Regions from separate parts of the Homo sapiens genome. Here all the other regions are linked to region 3. Evidence: promoter capture Hi-C in 16 types of primary human blood cells and fetal thymus (Javierre and others, 2016). All regions are on one chromosome and are shown on one strand. Each heading gives the region's core, a stretch centred on a gene start or on the middle of the fragment in contact. The rest is flanking DNA. Distances are from core to core; before and after follow the strand shown. Region 1 overlaps LOC105374134 (a long non-coding RNA gene). Region 2 overlaps ATP1B3 (ATPase Na+/K+ transporting subunit beta 3). Region 3 holds the start of RASA2 (RAS p21 protein activator 2). Region 4 overlaps ATP1B3 (ATPase Na+/K+ transporting subunit beta 3).

Region 1 (4,717 bases), core at 768-3,267, 370 kb before region 3:
CTCAAACTGTTACTTTGGAAGTTAGAACAAAGTGTTGACTTGCCAAGTCTTTGTAAAGGGGGCTTAGTTATATGATGCCCTTCAGGCACTTTGGGCTTCTTAGATGTGCCAGTGTTCTAAAGTGAATGTGTTTTGATTTCTGGGGTTAACTTCAGGGTTAGAAGGCGGGTGCACACACCAAACAAAAGGCTTGTTGTCTTCATCATTTTTTTCCCAGGGACCCAGGAAATAAAGGGGTCTTCTTTTCATAGCAGTAGTCTGTCAGTCTTTTCTGGCAGGAATTGAGATTCTGAGGAAGCAGTTAATATGTCTGGTGCAATAAATGTGACTTGGAAATTTGGCTGTCTCTTAACTATCCCCACCTCCTCTCCAGGCTCAGCATTTCCTTCAACACTGGGGTCAATGCTTAGGATAGGGTTGGTTTGACTCTATCCTGCCACTGCCTTGGCCTTAGTTTCCAGGTTTATAGTAACTGGTGTCTGCCTTACCTTCCTGTTCCTGGCTGACCCCTGCTCTGTTCCTAAGTCCCTGGTAATTACAGTCCCCTCCCAGTTTCTCAGTGAGGCGGTTGTTCTCTGTCCCCTCCGGTAACTAGATTCGCCTGACCTGGAGTCCAAAACTCCTATGCCTGAGTCATTCCCATATATCTCAGATGTCCTTGGCATAGAATCACTTGTCCACTCGCCTAACAAAGTATAAGAGTGTTCATATTTTCACTTAGGGCATAGATTTTAACTTTACCTTAATTTTTTAAAGTTTTTAATAAGCAGAAAAATTCACACCTGAATTATTAATTTGTTGAATGCCCTGAATCTCACTGAAAATAACTTAATTGTTAACATTGAATTGCATCAGCCAACAGGAACACAAAAAAGATGGGCCAAATAAACTGTACTATCACCTAACACCTCGTAACATAAGCAAAAGGAAACTTATTATCAATGTCATATGAACAACAAGTGCAAACATTCAATATGTGAACCTGCTGTAACAACCATTCTGGTCAAGGCTCCTGTTTTAGTTTTCATGAGATCAAAAGCTTAGGAATTCAGAATTGTGGTCATCCCCATTGAGTCAATTTTGGTAATTTATATGGACCAGACCTTCGTTATACAGCATCTGTAGCTGCAAAGTGATAGTCTGCTCTTGGTAAACTCTCCATCTTTCACATTATGTGGGGTTTATCTCCTCCTTGAACTCTTGGTAGAACCTTGCCTTATGGACCATGTGGACTTGTTTTCTTTTTTGAAGGTAGATCTTTGACTATTTCTTATATTACTATTGATAAGTTCAGGCTTTCTGTTCCTTGAGTCAATTTTGGTAATTTATATTTCTTTAGAAAGCCATTCTCCATGGTCTGGATTTTCAAATTCATTGGAATAAAGCTGCACATAGCACTTAAAAAATTTGAAATCTCTGCATTCTGTTTTCCTCTCTGATGTTATAGTGTCTTTTTTCTTTCTTTCTTTCTTTCTTTGTTTTTTTTCCTAGTTCATACTTGCCAAAGGCTTTCTATGTTTTGAGCTTGTTAAAACATCAAATTATTGTGTTGGGTTTTCTATTTCATATTATCTGTTTTATCTTTATTAATTCCTTCCTTCTACCTTCTCTGGTTTATTTGTTATTTTCTAGTTTCTAGAGTTGAAAGCTAAGTTCACTCATTTTCAATCTTTCTTGCTTTTTAACATCTGGATTTAACATTATAATTTTCTTCCTGATAAACAATTTTGTTATTTCTCAGTGTTTGAGATGCTTTGTCCTCCTTGTCACTGACTTCTAAATAATCCTACTGCCCAACCCTGTGGGAAAATTACCCCCACTGATACAAGACTTTACCATGTGACTTACTTTAGCCAATAAAACGTAAGTGGAAGTGCAGCCCACAATCTGAATCACAGTGTGATTCCATCATCTTTCTTTTCTTTCTACCAGAAGACCAGCAGTGTCCCACACAGGGCTGTTTCTTCAGCCTGCACACCAGACTGCAGATAACAAGGAGAGTGACAGCTGACCTGGGATGGTGATGGAGCGAGGGAGAAATAAATCTCTTGTAATCTCCTGATACAGTCTTAAATTCTCCAGTATGCATTTCTAAAGAGTTAAATGTCTTCCTATATAGCCAAAATAACATTTTCACATCTAACAAAATTAACATTTATTTCTTTTTTTATTTTTTTTGAGACGGAGTCTTGCTCTGTTGCTCAGGCTGGAGTGCAGTGGCACGATCTCAGCTCACTGCAACCTCTGCCTCCAGGGTTCAAGCGATTCTCTTGTCTCAGCCTCTCAAGTAGCTGGGACTACAGGCTTGTGCCACCATGCCCGGCTAATTTTTTGTATTTTTAGTAGAGATGGGGTTTCACCGTGTTAGCCAGGATGGTCTCAATCTCCTGACCTTGTGATTCCTCCATCTTGGCCTCCCAAAGTGCTGGGATTACAGGCGCGAGCCACCATGCCCGGCCCAATTTCTTAATATTATCTAATACTTAATACATACTCAAATTTCTTCATTTGGCTTCCAAATGTCCTTTATAGCTGGTTTGTACAGATCATGAACTAACCCAGAACCTCATATTCTATTTAATTATTATTATTATTATTTAACTGTCTTATTACACTGATTTTTTTAAGAGACCAGGCCTCCATCATATAGTTATGTTTTTCATCTCCTATGACCAGAAAGTGACCCAAGTGGTATAACTTTGGTACAGCATCAGTAACCAGTTTCCCATTCTTAGAGCTTTAAGGTCAACTGATAATCCTTGCCTGAATTGATAATTTCCTTAGGTACTACAAATGATTCTTTCAGTGTAAAGTAACGGTATAAATGTAAATGTAACCTATAAATGTATAAATGTAGAGTTTTCCCCTGTCATCTGGGATTATTTTGGTTTCTGCAGTAGAGTTGCTACTGCAAAGGCAGGATAAATGCCTACTTCTCCCTCGTTATCCACTTTCAAAGTAAACAGTTGTTTCAAATGGTGACACACAAGCTTTCTCTTACTGTTATAGACTTTGGATTTTTGGAGATTTGATGTGTTTCAATCAACTACAATCATTTTTCTTTTTTGATGTTCAAAGTCTTTCTTACGATATCCCTAATGATTTTTTTTTTCTTTTTTAGCTGGAGTGCAGTTGCGCGATCTCGGCTCACTGCAACCTCCAACTCCCTGGTTCAAGCAATTCTCTCGCCTCAGCCTCCCGAATAGCTGGGATTACAGGCACGTGCCACCATGCCCAGCTAATTTTTGTATTTTTAGTAGAAGGGTTTTACCAGATTGGCCAGGATGGTCTCAACTTCCTGACCTCGTGATCTGCCCACCTCGGCCTCCCAAAGTGCTGGGATTACAGGTGTGAGCCACCGTGTCCGTTCCCCAATGAAATTATTAATCCTAGTAGAATTCTTCACATGGGGAAACAAAAGCACAGGAACCAAAGTCACTGGACTCAGTAAGTCCCTAGAAATGATTAAAAGGGGAGAAAACATAAGACAGATAGGCAGGATGACAGCCACAGTCTGCCTGAGAGCGGCACAGTACATCACTGTGTACAACAGAAATCTGATTTGTCCCTTCTTGTAGCAATCCAAAGAACAGGGGGCCACAGGCAATGTTAGCTCTTAGAAAGAATCACCCCAAAATCATCATTGTTCACTTAAACAGCCAAACTGCTTCACCAGCTCATGCCCCTTCAAGCCAACACACTGTGTAGGTCAGATAAAGAACTAGTTGCACACCTTCAGTGATTAACAATCTATTTGGTGCCAGGCTGTGGTGGCACACACCTGTAGTTCCAGCTACTCAGGAGGCTGAGGCAGGAGAATCACTTCAGCTCAGAGGAGTTTGAGACCAGTCTGGGCAACACAATGAGACATTGTCTCTAAAAAATAAAAATAACCCATTTGGGAATAGTCATTGAGTTAACAAATATTTACTGTTAAGATGATGGGACAATAGGGCTAGGAATGATGGCTTATGCCTGTAATCCCAGCACCAAAGAGGCCAAGGCGGGTGGATCTTTTGAGCTCAGAAATTCGAGACCAGGCCGGACACGGTGGCTTATGCCTGTAATCCCAGCACTTTGGGAGGCTGAGGCAGGCTGATCACTTGAGGTCAGGAGTTTGAGACCAGCCTGGCCAACATGGTGAAACCCCATCTCTACTAAAAATACAAAAATTAGCCGAGCGTGGTGGCACGTGCCTGTAGTCCCAGCTACCCCAAAGGCTGAGGCAGGAGAATCGCTTGAACCCTGGAGGCAGAGGTTACAGTGAGCCGAGATTGCACTGTTGTGCCCTGGCCTGGGCAACAGAATGAGATTCCGTCTCAAAAAAAAAAAAAAAGGGTTGGGCGCAGTGGCTCATGCCTGTAATCTCAGCACTTTGGGAGGCCGAGGCAGGTGGATAACCTGAAGTCGGGGGTTCGAGACCAGCCTGACCAACATGGAGAAACCCCGTCTCTACTAAAAATACAAAAATTAGCTGGGCATGGTGGCACATGCCTGTAATCCCAGCTACTCGGGAAGCTGAGGCAGGAGAAGTGCTTGAACCCGGGAGGTGGAGGTTGTGGTGAGCTGAAATCAGGCCATTGCACTCCACCCTGAGCAACAAGAGTGAAACTCCATCTCAAAAAAAAAAAAAAGAGAGAGAAAAGAAAAGAAATTCGAGACCAGCCTGGCCAACATGGTGAAACCCCATCTCTACAAAAAATACAAAAATTAGCCG
Region 2 (5,205 bases), core at 2,224-4,723, 430 kb before region 3:
TCTCCTGACCTCGTGATCTGTCCACCTTGGCCTCCCAAAGTGCTTGGGAATATATAGGCATGAGCCGCCACACCCGACCCTTATCATTATTTTTTAATATTCTTTTTTGAAATGGAGTATGTTGCCCAGGTTGGAATGCAGTGGCACCATCTCAGCTCATTGCAACCTCCACCTCCCAGGTTCAAGCGATTCCCCTGCCTCAGCCTCCCATGTAGCTGGAGTCACGGGTGCCCACCACCATACCCAGCTAATTTTTTTATTTTTAGTAGAGACAGGGCTTTGCCATTGCTACTGAAGTTGGCCAGGCTGGTCTCGAACTCCTGACCCCAGATGATCCACCTACCTCGGCCTCCCAAAGTGCTGGGATTACAGGCGTGAGCCACTGCACCTGGCCTTTTTTTTTTTTTTTTTGAGACATTGCATTCTGTTGCCAGGCTGGAGTGCAATGGTGCAATCTCGGCTCACTGCAACCTCTGCCTTCCTGGTTCAAGTGATTCTCCTGCCTCAGCCTCCTGGGTAGCTGGGATTACAGGAGTGTGCCACCACGGTCAGCTAATTTTTGTATTTTTAGTAGAGACAGCGTTTCACCATGTTGGTCAGGCTGGTCTCGAACTCTCCACCTCAGGTGATCCGCCTGTCTCAGCCTCCCAAAGTGCTGGGATTACAGGCGTGAGCCACCGTGCCAGGCAGTAACGAGCTTTTTAATTTTCTCCCCACATGATACTTATTGATGACAGAGGAAAAAAAGTATATTGTAGAAACCTCGCTCATACCACCTTAACCAAGGAATCAAGGCAGTATCACCATTAACGGAATGAAATGATACCATGTCCCTCCTGACACTCTGAGAACTCAACATTTCTTTTGAGGCACTCATGCCAAAATGCACAACCTATATTTAATCATGAAAAACCACCAAACTCCAACTAATGAACATAAAATAAGCCATAAAAGGCCCGTACTTATTTTTGAAGAGTACAAAGCCATGAAACAGACTGAGGAAATATTCCTGATTATAGGTTGCTAAACGTGTTAACAGTGTGACATCTGGGATCAGGAAAACACTTGTCTTTCACTATAAAGAGTATTACTGGAACAATTGATGGATTTTCAACAAAGTCTACAGATTCATAAGAGCACTATATGTTAACTTCCTTTGTTAACTGTACTACTGTCTTTGTTTTCTGTTGCTTATAACACAATACTTGAAACTGGGTAATTTATAAAGAAAGGAATTTATTTCTTACAGTTAATGGAGGCTGAGAAGGCCAAGATCAAGGAGCTGCATCTGGTGAGAACCTTCTTTGCTGCTGGGTACTTTCAACAGAGTCCTGAGGTGGTGCAAGGCATCACGTGGCCAGGGGGCTGAGCATGCTAACCTGCTAGCTCAGGTCTCTCTTCCTCTTCTTATAAAGCCGCTAGTCCCACTCCTATGATAACTCATTAGTCCACTAACCTATTTTTTTTTTTTTTGAGATAGAGTCTTGCTTTGTTGCCCAGGCTGGAGTGCAATGGTGCAGTCTTGGCTCACTGCAATCTCTGCCTCCCAGGTTGAAGCGATTCTCCTGCCTCAGTCTCCCGAGTAGCTGGGATTACATGCACCCACCACTATGCCCGGCTAATTTTTGTATTTTCAGCAGAGACGGGGTTTCACTATGCTAGTCAGGCTGGTCTAGAACTCCTGACCTCAGGTGATCTGCCCGCCTCGGCCTCCCAAAATGCTGCGATTGCAGGCGTGAGCCACCACACCCGGCCGCAATGAGCTTTTGATTTTTTTTCTTTTTTGAGACAGAGTCTCGCTCTGTTGCCCAGGCTGGAGTGCAGTGGCACAATCTCGGCTCACTGTAACCTCCGACTCCCAGGTTCATGCCAGTCTCCTGCCTCACCCTCTCGAGCAGCTGGGACTACAGGTGCCTGCCACCACGCCCAGCTAATTTTTTGTAATTTTTAGTAGAGACGGGGTTTCACCGTGTTAGCCAGGATGGTCTTGATCTCCTGACCTCGTGATCTGCCCGACTCGGCCTCCCAAAGTGCTGGGATTACAGGTGAGCCACTGCGCCTGGCCTTGATTTTCTTTTCATTTATTTTTTTGGTGGGGGAAACAGAATCCCATTCTGTCACCCAACCTGGAGTGTGGTGGTACAATCTTGGCTCACTGCAACCTCCACCTCCTGGGTTCAAGCGATTCTCCTGCCTCAGCCTCCCGAGTAGCTGGGACTACAGGCACATGTCACCACGCCCAGCTAATTTTTGTATTTTTAGTAGAGAGGGGGTTTCGCCAAGTTGGCCAGGCTGGTCTCAAACTCCTGACCTCAGGTAATGCGCCCGCCTTGGCCTCTCAAAGTGCTGTGATTACAGGAGTAAGCCACCGCACCCGGCCTTGATTTTCTTTTTAAGTACTTTTCTACTTTCTCTACATAAGCACCTACTACTACCTCTATAATGAAAAAGAAAATGATATTTTAGAAATAATCATCTAACTTTAACGTATCTGCTTGGGTTCTGTGTTCTGAATTGTAAATGTGGGAACTCCATTTACCATCACCATTAAAATAAAACAAAACCTGAATAGATGACGCACAAATTAAACAGGGCTGGCGTCTACCTACCCCAGACAAGTGGTACGTCAACACATGCTCCAGCTTCCCAAAAGAGTAATCACCACATAAGAACTTCTCAATACTTACATGCAGTTTTTTCCCATAATATGGGAAATATTTTAAGTCTATCATTCCATTATGAGGATAAACTGCTACATTTGGTATATCTTCATTCTGAAGTTGAAAACAAAAGAAATCCTCTTTAGGTCACAAAAAGAATTTGTAAAAACTATGTTTATAATTAAAGGAATATCAATCATGAACAGTTTGCAGAAACTACAATGCTGCTCCAACTATATTATCATTACAAGTGTATTTCTGAGAAGAAGCTTGCTCATCTTGATTGCAAATATTATCTAACTAACCCCTTCCACATGAACTATCCTGATACTTACACTTCCAGATACACTCTATACTCTCTTTCATGAGAGTCCCTTCTTTAACTCATGTACTCCTGTAAAATCTTATCTGCCCTCCAAATACCAAATGCCAGCCTTTCTACCTACTAACAGCAGGAATGCACCAGCAGGTTTAGGACCGATGTTTTCCTGAAATGAATAAAATGCTGTGCTTCCAGACTGGAAAGCAACAGCCACCACAAGGTGCCAACCTAGAATGCAGCACTCAGGCCTGGGAGACAGCAGGTGTGAGTTTCATGTGATTAATAACCAGAACTGCAACCAGAGGGGAAGCATGAAGGAAAATTTAAGGTACTACAAGCAAAACTCTCCTCGACAAATTTAAATACTGTATCAGGAATAAATTTATGAGCATATATAAATCATTAAGTATTACTTGTCTACTAGAATTCCATGTTTATCAACATACAAATCAAGCATCACCTGTAATCCAATTAATTCATGCTATTAGTTATTTCTAGTATTATTCATGATAAATAAGCAATTTATGAAAATTCACATGTAACACTTTCTAAATGGGCCTAATTCTAATGAGTGTAACTTTAACACAGACTGAGAAGTAGCAAACAGACCACAATGATTAAAATCAGTGCTGGGCTTACGGAACACTAGTTAAAATAAAACATTATTAAATACTTGAATTTTATATATATATAAAAAAATTTTTTTGAGACAGGGTTGAAAGCATGCATGAAACAGCATAAAGCAAAACTAAGAATCCACTCTAAGGAGTTCTAGATTCTGCTCATTTCATTTCATTATGAAGCAGCATATGGCTGTGGGGTGGGGTGAGAGACAGATGAAAGGCACCGGCCAGACAGCACAAAGGACAGAGTGATGATGCGCCCCACCCACCAGACAAGCTCTAATGATCCAGATGATGAATATGTGGAAAGGGTAGGAAGTAACAACGCTAGGAGAAATCGCAAAAGCCATTTTCAATCACTACTCAAACTCCACCCTACATTTGTACTCTTTAACTTAAAAAATAAGCTTAAAATCAAAGATAACATTTTATATTAGAGAAAAACTAGTCACTCTGATATCAGTGCTTTTCTGCATTAATTGCTTTTGTTGAACCTATTTTACCTTAATATATGACCTTCACAGAACACATTTCCGCAAAATGAAAAAAAGGATTTTTTTTGAGAAACAGTTTACTGAGTATCTTGGAGTATGTTTCTTTTTTCTTTTTTCTTTTTTTTGAGACAGAGTCTCACTCTGTTGCCTAAGCCAGAGTGCAATGGCCTGATCTTGGCTCACTGCAGCCTCCTCCTCCCGGGTTCAAGCGATTCTCCTGTCTCAGCCTCCTGAATAGCTGGGATTACAAGTGTGCGCCACCATGCAGGGCTGATTTTTGTATCTTTAGTAGAGACGGAGTTTTGTCATGTTGGCCAGGCTGGTCTCAAACTCCTTACCTCAAGTGATCCACCACACCCAACCCAGAGTGGGTTTCCTACCAGATACCACACTTAGCTTACACTTCCCTCCTTTAGGCCTAACAAGCCTTAGTGGACAGCATCAATTACGGAGCAGGGCACTGGGGCTCAGAGTTAAGGCCATCACGGCTCAAGACCATCAGGTGTGGCAGACGCTCAACTGCTCTCTGTGTGTGCCTAAGACGTGATCTTGGCAGGATTTTTCTTAATCTTTTAATTTATACCTTCTGTGAAAATAAACATTTAGAAATTGTAAAATATTAAAATGAGTATCTGAATAATAATGAGGTACTCAGGGTGAAGCATGTATGTCATAATTTTCTAAGTATACGAATAGCATATTTTTTTTTCTTTTTGAGACAGAGTTGCTCTGTTGCCTAGGATGGAGTGGAGTGGCGCGATCATGGCTCACTACAACCTCTGCCTCCTGGGTACAAGCGATTCTCTTGCCTAAGCCTCCCGAGTAGCTGGGATTACAGGCACATGCCACCACGTCAGGCTCATTTTTTTATTTTTAGTAGAGATGGGGTTTCACCATGTTAGCCAGGCTGGTCTCGAATTCCTGACCTCTGGTGATCCGCCTACCTTGGCCTCCCAAAGTGCTGGAATTACAGGTGAAAGCCACCGCGTCCGGCAATAGCATCATATTGTAAACTATGAGCAACTAACTCTAAGAACCTACTGATGGTCACTAAGTTCCACTGAAACAAAATGGAGTTTAAAAATTAATGCATTTTGTTTCTTCCC
Region 3 (4,717 bases), core at 1-2,500:
AAGAAAATAATGCTAATTTTCGACAAATGCAAAAATAAATGTTATTGATCTCTCTTACAAACAGAAAACAAAAAGCACTTCATCTAAATAAACCACTGTGAAAAAAAAAATGGCAACCTGACACCAAAGGGTCGTTTTTAAAACTAAAATGTTCAAATGACAGAACTCAAATAATCTGTCCACAGTAATGCTCGGACAACTCTGAGCAAAATTTCGTATTTAGTCAACTGGTAGGCTCGCTCACTAAAGTAGCAATTACACGCATGAGAAGGAAGGGAATTAAGCGGGCTGAGTGCGGGCTGGGTGATTGTGTTTTGAGACCTGCTCACAGGAAGCCACTACATCCTGCCTTTAGTCCCGCCTGTCACGCCGTCCCTCGATTCAAGTCCCGGCCGCAGCGAGGTGGGGCAAGTACAGGTGTCCCGCCGAGCTCCTCCCGGGGCGCTCACCCGCGAACAGACCGCGCGGTAGCCACTCGGGCCCCAGGGCGGCCCGTTTCCTGCAGCTCAGGGCGCCTTTTTCAACCTCTCCCAGGCTCGCCGAGCCCAGGAAACGAACAGCCCCCTCCCCTCGGGCCAGCCCCACTTCCCAGCCCGCCACCTCCTCGGGCCGCGCCTCCGTATAATTACTGCTCGGCTCCCACCGCGGGGCCACTCCCCAGCGCCCGCAGCCGCGCGAAGGCCTGAGTCTGAGGGCGGCCGGAAGCTCCTCACGCCCCCGGACCGCGCCCCCGGCCGCGCCCCGGACTCCAGCGTCCCCGCGTCCAGGCCGCTCCCCACGACCGAGCCCCTCACGCCGGCGCAGCCCGGGCTCTCCCACCCCAGGCCCATCTCCAGCTCCCACTCCCTCCGGAGAGCAGCAGCCCCGGCCCACGCCGCCCCGTCGAGGCGACGCCGCCCCCCAACACACCCCCTTCCAGCCTCAACCGCGCCCGGCCCAGGCCCCCTCCCGGGCCCGCGATCCCAGCGCAGCTCGGCGCCGCCACCGCCGCGAACCCGCCGCCCCCTCAGCCTCGCGCCCAGCGCCGCCAGGGCGTCCCCTCAGCCCAGCCCCCGCTTACAGATCTTGCCCCGCAGGCTCTGCAACACTCGAACCTCGCGACTGTCCTGGTCCCCGGCCTCGGGCTCTGCAGTCGCACTCGCCGCTGGCGCCTCGGAAGAAGCCGCCGCAGCAGCAGGCGCCGCCGCCGCCATGGTGCCGCCCGGCCCGTGCCGCAGCCCTGCCGCCTGCGTAGCCGGGCGAGGCGGAGCCCAGCAGCGGCCTAGGCCCAGGCCAGCCGCGCGCCTGGCCCCGCCCCCGGGCCTCGGCCCGACTCGCCCCGCCCCGCCCCGCCCGCCGCGGCCCCGCCCCCGCCCCCCCCGGGTCTCCATTCACCGCCTTCGCCACCCCCGAGCCGGGCTACCCTGCAGAGAACCGTACTCCCGGCTTGGGGCGCTGGCTAAGGGTAGCTCCCAGTCGTGGCTCTGAGCGGCCTTAAAATCCCCACCAGGAGAACGCCCCGGCCCTCCCGTGATCCCTAAATCCTCCCGGGAATTGGGCTCCCCCAATGAATAGACCTGCACATCTCCTAACGCTCGCGGGAAATACAGGCCCTTCCCAATCAGGGAAACTCCCTGTGGGAAGAAAATAGAATGGAATTTGGCAGGTGGGTGGACCTCAAAAGTATCTTATTCAAAAGGAGGCAAGAGATGCATTTGAGGCTCTTCCAGTATTATCCAAATACTCCCCGCCAGCAAGCCAAACTCCTCCCACACAAATACTCTTTACTAGGACCAATTCTCTGCAAAACCTGGTTCAAGAAAAGGACCAGCCACCCCCAACTCCAGCGTGAGTGCAGTGCCTGAGACCCTCTCATAGAGAAATTCTGAAGCATTTACCATCACTTTTGTATTTCAGGAACAGAAAAAGCAAAGAAGGGCTCCCCCCCGCCACCGCCACCACTACTAAAAGTTGGCTTTGTTAAAAAGTTGACTGACCCTAGGAAATGTGTAAATCTTTGACTAATTGTTAGCTTTATTTCAAGGGAACTCTTTACAGTGAGTAAACTGCATGAATAATACCCTGGTATGTGATGAGGAAGACAATTTCCTGGTGTTGAGGTTGTTAACTACGCTGCCCTAAGAAGGAAGAAACTGTGACTTAATCGGGCAGGGTAATTCTTTTCCAGGGCAACAACAGGAATAAGCCAGTCAGTCAACAAATATTTTTTGAGGGTCAGACATAGTGATGGCCTCAGACCTCAGAGACTACACAAAGGTCAAGATGAAGAGAGCTCCAGCTCATTCTGGAGGGAGACACAGAAAAGGCCAGAGGCACTGGGAGATAAGAAATAGGACGGGGAAACCTGAAAACTGAAGACAAACGCGCCGCCTGTGCAAAGGCTGGACAGCCCCAGAGAATGGTCAGAGTTTAACATGGACCTGGCCAGCGAAGCTTCCAGTTCTGCCTGTGTTGCAGGTGACTTCTATTTCCCCATGTGATCTTTACACTTGTTGGATAAAGTGAACCACTTCCTCTTATATGAATGTTTTGCTGTCATTTCAAACATAAGTCCAAAACTTAATTTCCTGTCTCCCTTTCCAAATCTGAGTTCACATCTTATACTGTTACTCAGGCCAGAAACTTTGACTTTTTCTTATCCCTTGTCCCAATGCTGTTTTCAGTTGCCACATCCTTCTGACTCTGCTGAAATCTCTTCCTTCCTTTCCATTCTCTGTCATTGCCCTTGTTAAAATTATTCTCATTTAAAGAGTATCAACGTGTTACAGGGTTTTTTCCCCCTTATTTTTAAAGGCATCCCTTTTTAGAATCAGACATAGAGCCTGTTTCTACCCCTTTTACATTTGGGCAAGTTACTCAACCTTCCTAAACCTGTTTCTGTTTCTTCTCTTTCTTTCTTTCTTTTTTTTTTTGACAGTCTTGCTCTGTTGCCTAGGCTGGAGTGCAGTGGCACGATCTCAGCTCACTGCAGCTTCAACTTCCTGGGCTCAAGCTATCCTCCCATGTCAGCCTCCTAAGTAGCTGGGACTACAGGTGCGCGCCACCATGTCCAGTTAATTTTTGTATTTTTGGTAGAGATGGGGTTTTGCCATGTTGCCCAGGCTGGTCTTGAACTTCTGGGCTCAAGTGATCCATCCGCGTCAGCCTCCCAAAGTGCTGGGTGTAAGCCACTGCGCCCGGTTGAACCTGTTTCTTTAACAGTAAAGTGGAAATGCTAAACTTTCTTCTTTGAAGGGTTGTTATTAAGATTAAATAAGTATTGGGAGCAGGGTGTTAAGTGTCTAGTGGAATGCTGAGCACGTAGTAGGATTACCTCAGTAACTGACCTCATGCTTTTGACTGGAACTCTGGTAATAAGTCCCCCATCCCTCTCATTCCTCCTACATACCACTTAAATTAACTTTCCTAACAAAAAAAATGGAGCTTATCAGTTGCCTGCTCAAGAGGACATCAGTGGCTTCATTTATCCCTTCAGCCAGCTAGCAAGAGCACACTACAGGTAATGAACAATGCTAGAAATGACTAAAGTTCAAATTCTTCAGCCAAGAGTTGGAACTGGATCCAGCGTACCTGACTCCTCTGATCTCCAGCCACACTGAGCCCCTTTTCTCACCAGCCTGATTCTGGCCTTCCTCCTGCTTGGCCAAGCGATGCCTCATCCATCTATTTCTTTCTCCAATAAACAGAGAAATTATTTGAACCTTTGGACAAATGTATCCATGGATAAAGTATCAATGTACAAATGGACAAATGTATCCAATGGACAAACGTATCCAATGGACAAAGTATCAATATCTTTGTCCATTAGTGTCAAAATCTTCTAACTTCCCTTCCTTTTCACTAGCTTAACCCCAAGTGCATAACTCTGTTACTAAATGGTCACTAAAGGTATGAAAACAATTTTACATAAAGGGACACTCCACTTTTTTGTTCTTCCAGACAGTCTTCCTTTTGCAGATTTCGGACTTATACCGTTTCACTAAAATCCCCAAACTCCATTGCTTTTTCATCCGAAGTCACTTCTAATTATTCTGTTTTTACTGATACTTGCCTACTTTGAAGAGATCTTGGGTAATGTCAATGTTTCCTTAATATAAAATATTTGGAAAATAAAGTTTTCTTTCTTTCTTTCTTTTCTTTTTTTTTTTTTTAAGATGGAGTCTTGCTCTGTTGCCCAGGCTGGAATGCAGTGGCGCGATCTCGGCTCACTGCAAGCTCCGCCTCCCGGGTTCATGCCATCCTCCTGCCTCAGCCTTCCTAGTAGCTGGGACTACAGGCGCCCGCCACTGCGCCCGGCTAATTTTTTTTGTGTTTTTAGTAGAGACGTGGTTTCACTGTGGTCTTGATCTCCTGACCTCGTGATCCACCAGCCTCAGCCTCCTAAAGTGCTGGGATTACAGGCGTGAGCCACCGCGCCCGGCCGAAAATAAAGTTTTCTAAAGACTAACAAGACATACAGTATAATTACGAGAAGGCTGTTACATCTCATTCCCCTTATTGCCCTTGCATTATGTTTTAAATTCATCTAGAGTTCCTCTCTTTTCTTCATGATGTTTAGTAACTGGAACAATATTGCATCATCACAAACTTGAACTTCACTTCCTTCCTCAAATTATTAATGAATGTGTTTAAAGGCCATCCCTTCTATCCCTACCACTCTTCGTTCTGATGAGCAACCATTCACTACTATGTCTTTTCCTATTTCTTCACCAGTTTT
Region 4 (4,815 bases), core at 1,652-4,151, 420 kb before region 3:
GCCTGTAGTCCCAGTTACTTGGGAGACTGAGGCAGGAGAACTGCTTGAACCTGGGAGACAGAGGTTGCAGTGAGCCGAGATCGTGCCATTGCACTCCAGCCTGGGCGACAGAGCGAGACTTCGTCTCAAAAAAAAAAAAAAGCATTAGATCTAGATTAATTCAACCTTGCACATAGGCTTTAAAACAATCCTAAAATTTTCTCTAGCCTTCAAACATTCCCATATTTAATATATCACACATGTACATATAATACATATTATATGTATATAATATACAACACATAAATACATATTATATATGTATTACATGTACATGTGATATATTAAATAAGGAAATGTTTAATATGTCCCATATGTAATATATATGTATTATATGTACATGTGTATGCATGTATATTTATTTAAACTAATGATACTTTAAGTACTAAAATAATCGACAAATAATTTTAAGAAACTCAGTTTAAAAACTGTGTACTTAAAAATATTTAACACATATGCTTATATATTTCATGCAATTATAAACAGAGTTCAGTGTTTTTGAATAGATCAGACTATGTTCAATGGTAAGTCACATCACTTAAATAGCAAGTAAAGAATAATCTTAGAATTAGTCTGAGGTAGAAAAAAACAGTGCTACAATGAGAGATGAAGGAAAAGTAGCATGGAACTAATCTCTGACACTTGCTCCAATACACTAAGAGTTTTAAAAGAGTTATTCAAGACATTTAGACTAAGATTAGCTGTAAACAAAAGAAATCATTAGAAAAAAATTGTTCTAGGAAAAAAAATGGTTGAGACAATTAGTTCAGTTTGGCTGGTGATATAGCTCAGAAGTCTATACAGTGAGCAAGGATCTAGATAAGGGCACTTCCATCTCAGCATTATTGGCATTTTGGGCTGAATAATTCTTTGTTGTGGGGGTTGCCCTATGCACTGTAGGATGTTTAGCAACATCCCTGGCCTCTATTCACAGTACCACCTCTCTAGCTGTAACAACCAAAAATATTTCCAGACGCTGCCATATGACTCAGTGGTTGAAAACCACTGCTCTAGAGAGAAACCTGCTAGACTCCCACCTTCCTGGCCCGATTCCCCACTCTCCTGCCCTCTAAATCCCACTCCTCTAGGACTGAACTTTCTTCTTTAGGTAGAACCTTCCCTTCTCTGTCATCTATAGCAGTTAGTTTACAGTCTTTGGAATTATACACACTGAAGTTCTGCACATTACTGTTTCTTACTTTTCTAATTATCAGCATCTGAGGACAAGGGTCATGTCCAGTCACCAAGGGAGAGCTGGCATTCAAAGACTGTTTAGGCCAGGTGTGGTGGCTCACCCCTGTAATCCCAGCACTTTGGGAGGCCGAGGCGGGTGGATCGCCTGAGGTCAGGAGTTCGAGACCAGCCTGGCCAACGTGGTGAAACCCCGTCTCTACTAAAAATACAAAAAATTAGCTGGGCGTGGTGACACATGCTTGTAATCCCAGCTCCTTGGGAGGCTGAGGCAGGAGAATCGCTTGAACCCGGGAGGCAGAGGTTGCAGTGAGCCGAGATCACACCATTGCACTCCAGCCTAGGCAACAGGAGCAAAGCCCTGTCTCAAAAAAAAAAAAAAAAAAAAAAAGACTGTTTAAAAAGAATAAAATCAGGAGGTAGAAAATGTGGTTTAGATGTTTCAGTTTTTTACTGCATACATTCTCCTGTATAATGAATTTTTTTTCCAGAAGAAAATCAAGAAGAATTAAACATATGAAGAGTATATTCATTTTGTTCTCTATGAGGTATCATTATTTAACAACTTACCAATTTCATAACTAACCATTTAGAACGACAAAGTATGTATTTTATAAGTCCAAAGCTCTAACTGAAGCTAGTGCCAAAATATATACCTTAATTACTCAAGGCAAAGTAAAACTGCTCTACGATACTCATAAGTCACTCATAACTATAACTATATTCTTCAAACGTGGCTTTTACTAGAATTCTCAATATTCATTTGCTTACTTCTGACAAAAAAAAAAAGAAACCGAAACAAACAAAACAAACCCACTCAAACTCTCAAGATTTATCAGTATATAAATGTGAAGGTCTTTAAATCAGTATGTAAATATTAAACAACAACAACAAAAATTAAAACCTTCACATTACTCAGCTCCAAGGTTTAGCTATCTTCTATCTGCTATATAAAACAGATTTATGGTGAAGATAAACTATAACTCAATTTTGTTAAAAGCCGTAACCACTGCCAGGCACAGTGGCTCACGCCTGTAATCCCAGCACTTTGGGAGGCCAAGGCGGGGCAGATCACCTGAGGTCGGGAGTTCGAGACCAGCCTGACCAACATGGAAAAACCCTGTCTCTACTAAAAATACAAAATTAGCCGGGCGTGGTGGCGCATGCCTGTAATCCCAGCTACTTAGCAGGCTGAGGAGGCAGGAGAATCGCTTGAACCTGGGAGGCAGAGGTTGCAGTGACCCAAGATCATGCCACTGCATTCCAGCCTGGGCAACAAGAGTGAAACTCTGTCTCAAAAAAAAAACAAAAAACAAAAAACAAAGTCATAACTGCAAGATAATTACCTGGGCTAGGAATCTGGTCACGGTATTTTGGAACCTCATCGTTGAGAGTCTGAAGCATAACCCACATCGTGAATGAGAAGAGTGCAGCCAGGAACCCATAAAAAACTAGGTAGAAGAGCAAGATCAAACCTGTAAAAGAAAATAAAACTTATGAAATGTGCACGTGCGTGTGTGTGTGTATGCATGTTTGGCCAGGTTAAAAAACAAACCAACTGTTCTTGCAAGGGTACGATCCCAAGCTTTGCCATGCACATAGCCAAATATCCTCATATTCAGGACACATAAATTTGCCCAAGCAAGGGGTATTTCAGCAGACAGCACCCACCCATCCCATGACCCCTCCTTTTCCCTGGTATTTCCAAGTTAAAGCAGCTTCCACCATTCATACTCTGGTTCAAAATCAAAGCTTTAAAATTCCAGTACATAGGGGAATGTTTCCCAAAATGAACTTGATGCCCTCTAAAAAGATACAAGATGGTTTTAGGTAAACAAAACCCCCAATATTTACATGATCCTTTAAGTGGCGAATATAAAAGAATTAGTACATGAAACGCATATTTCACAGACAGTAATTATTTGCTTAAATTTAAGTTTTAAAAAGTGAGTTAATGGCTCCCACCTGTAATGCCAGCACTTTGAGAGGCTGAGATGGGAGGATCGCCTGAGCCCAGGAGTTGGGACTAGCCCAGGAAACACTTTGTCTTTACAAAAAAATTAGGTGCTCACTTTGGCAGCACATATACTAACAGTGGAACGATACAGAGAAGATTAGCATGGCCCTTGTGCAAGGATGACATGCAAATTTGTGAGTCGTTCCATATTTAAAAAATTAAAAAAATATATATTTTAAAAACTGAGTTCATTGAAAGAATATCAGGAAATGTGCAGATAAGGCCAACTTATGAAGACAGCACTCAATGAATAAAGTTTAGGACACACTGGTCAAATGGCAGGGCTCGTGCAAAAGTGAAAAAAGGACAAGGTCAGAAACAAGCCCTCTGATCAATGGAATTTCATAGCTCTACTGCTAAGCACAAAGCAAGATTTGGGAGACACACGTTTCAACATTAAGGGCTTAATCTCTTTCCTTTCACAATTTGGGAACACTAAGATAGATCTATCCTGAACCAGTGATTTACTTTGGGAACACTTAAAATCAATTATTTTTCTCAAATGTCTATATTCAAAGTTCTAACATCAGAAGTGGCTGCCAACAAGTATATTAGAATACATTGGTAAAGTCACTTGTATTTCAAGGTTTAAAAACTGATCAAAGATTCATTTCTGTAATAATATATTTCTGAATATATTTTCCCCCCAGGGAGTGGCTCCACAACTTTCTTCTGATTCTCAAAAGATCCCATGACCCCAAAACAGATTGTGCTGAAAGCTAGATAACTTTTATTTCTCAACTGCAAGGCAGGAATCACCCCCAACCCCCTTTTTCAAGTAAAGGGGAAATAGTTAAAGCAATTTCATTTTATAATTTAGACTAGCATTCTACCCCTCCCCCCCAATTACCAGGTGGCCAAAATAAGGATGGAGAGGACAGAAGAGAGGAGAACAGGATGTCACCTTCAGACAGCATCACTTCCCTACCACATACTGCGATCCTGTTGCAGAAAAAGAAAAGACCAATCTCAAAGAAGTAAACAGTTTGCTATAGAGGGAAATGAAACACACAGAAAGCCCACAGGCCAGTTTAATAAGATACAGAAGAGAAATTCTTTGAGATCTAGGTGTCTGCAGGAACGAAGGGATAAAATCCTCTACACCAGGGCTGACAGAAACTTAAATGTAATGAGTGTGGCTGTATTCCAATAAGGTTTTGCTTATAAAAATAGGCAGACTGGGGCCACAGTAGTTTGTTGACCCATGCAGTTGACATTAAAGTGGAGATGTCTGAAACAAAATTGCTAAGAGTTTAATTATTTAGCAGTGTTTTTAAGTCATCTTAAAATATTCTTGTTACAATACTGTTTTGAACATTTTGATTTTAAATTTCTAGGAAAATAATGTAAATTAAATTTACAAAATAGTTATAAAGCAAATAAATATATAGCAGATATGAACAAACTATATCCAAATCTGCTTTCTAAGGAACTATTACACAATGAAAATAATGAGTATAAAGAATTACATTCATACAATATATACACAAATCAACAGCTATGTCCCAAATCTGATGCCATATACTAGTGGCCATTAGAAACAAGTAAATAAGTTATTTCCAGCAGTG

Evidence for each region. The method cuts DNA at HindIII sites, captures the fragments that hold promoters and counts their contacts. A CHiCAGO score of 5 or more calls a contact.
Region 1: a fragment that was not itself captured here is called in contact with the fragment with the promoter of RASA2 in region 3 in 3 of 17 cell types (monocytes, M0 macrophages and M2 macrophages); the score reaches 6.7 in monocytes.
Region 2: a contact is called between a fragment that was not itself captured here and the fragment with the promoter of RASA2 in region 3, in 5 of 17 cell types (M0 macrophages, erythroblasts, fetal thymus and 2 more). The highest score is 6.5, in M0 macrophages.
Region 4: a fragment that was not itself captured here is called in contact with the fragment with the promoter of RASA2 in region 3 in 14 of 17 cell types (total B cells, M0 macrophages, total CD8 T cells and 11 more); the score reaches 10.6 in total B cells.

Annotation. Positions count from the first base shown.
Region 1 is chr3:141,855,712-141,860,428 of GRCh38, reverse strand. LOC105374134 (a long non-coding RNA gene) reads right to left here. Exons shown (of 3, transcript XR_924551.3): 2 at 1,849-2,012. Among named protein-coding and RNA genes, the nearest start is that of ATP1B3, 19 kb to the left of the region's middle. The HindIII fragment of the contact is 1,951 bases long and covers 1,042-2,992 here.
Region 2 is chr3:141,919,546-141,924,750 of GRCh38, reverse strand. It overlaps ATP1B3 (ATPase Na+/K+ transporting subunit beta 3), which reads right to left. Exons shown (of 7, transcript NM_001679.4): 6 at 2,688-2,774. Among named protein-coding and RNA genes, the nearest start is that of ATP1B3, 46 kb to the right of the region's middle. The HindIII fragment of the contact is 1,083 bases long and covers 2,932-4,014 here.
Region 3 is chr3:141,483,560-141,488,276 of GRCh38, reverse strand. It overlaps RASA2 (RAS p21 protein activator 2), which reads right to left and starts at 1,250. Exons shown (of 24, transcript NM_006506.5): 1 at 1,061-1,250. The coding sequence starts at 1,193. RefSeq lists a silencer at 462-1,341. The HindIII fragment of the contact is 5,296 bases long and covers 1-2,435 here.
Region 4 is chr3:141,901,510-141,906,324 of GRCh38, reverse strand. ATP1B3 (ATPase Na+/K+ transporting subunit beta 3) reads right to left here. Exons shown (of 7, transcript NM_001679.4): 2 at 2,577-2,705. It also overlaps the pseudogene RNU6-509P. Among named protein-coding and RNA genes, the nearest start is that of ATP1B3, 27 kb to the right of the region's middle. RefSeq lists enhancers at 900-1,400, 1,401-1,901. The HindIII fragment of the contact is 167 bases long and covers 2,818-2,984 here.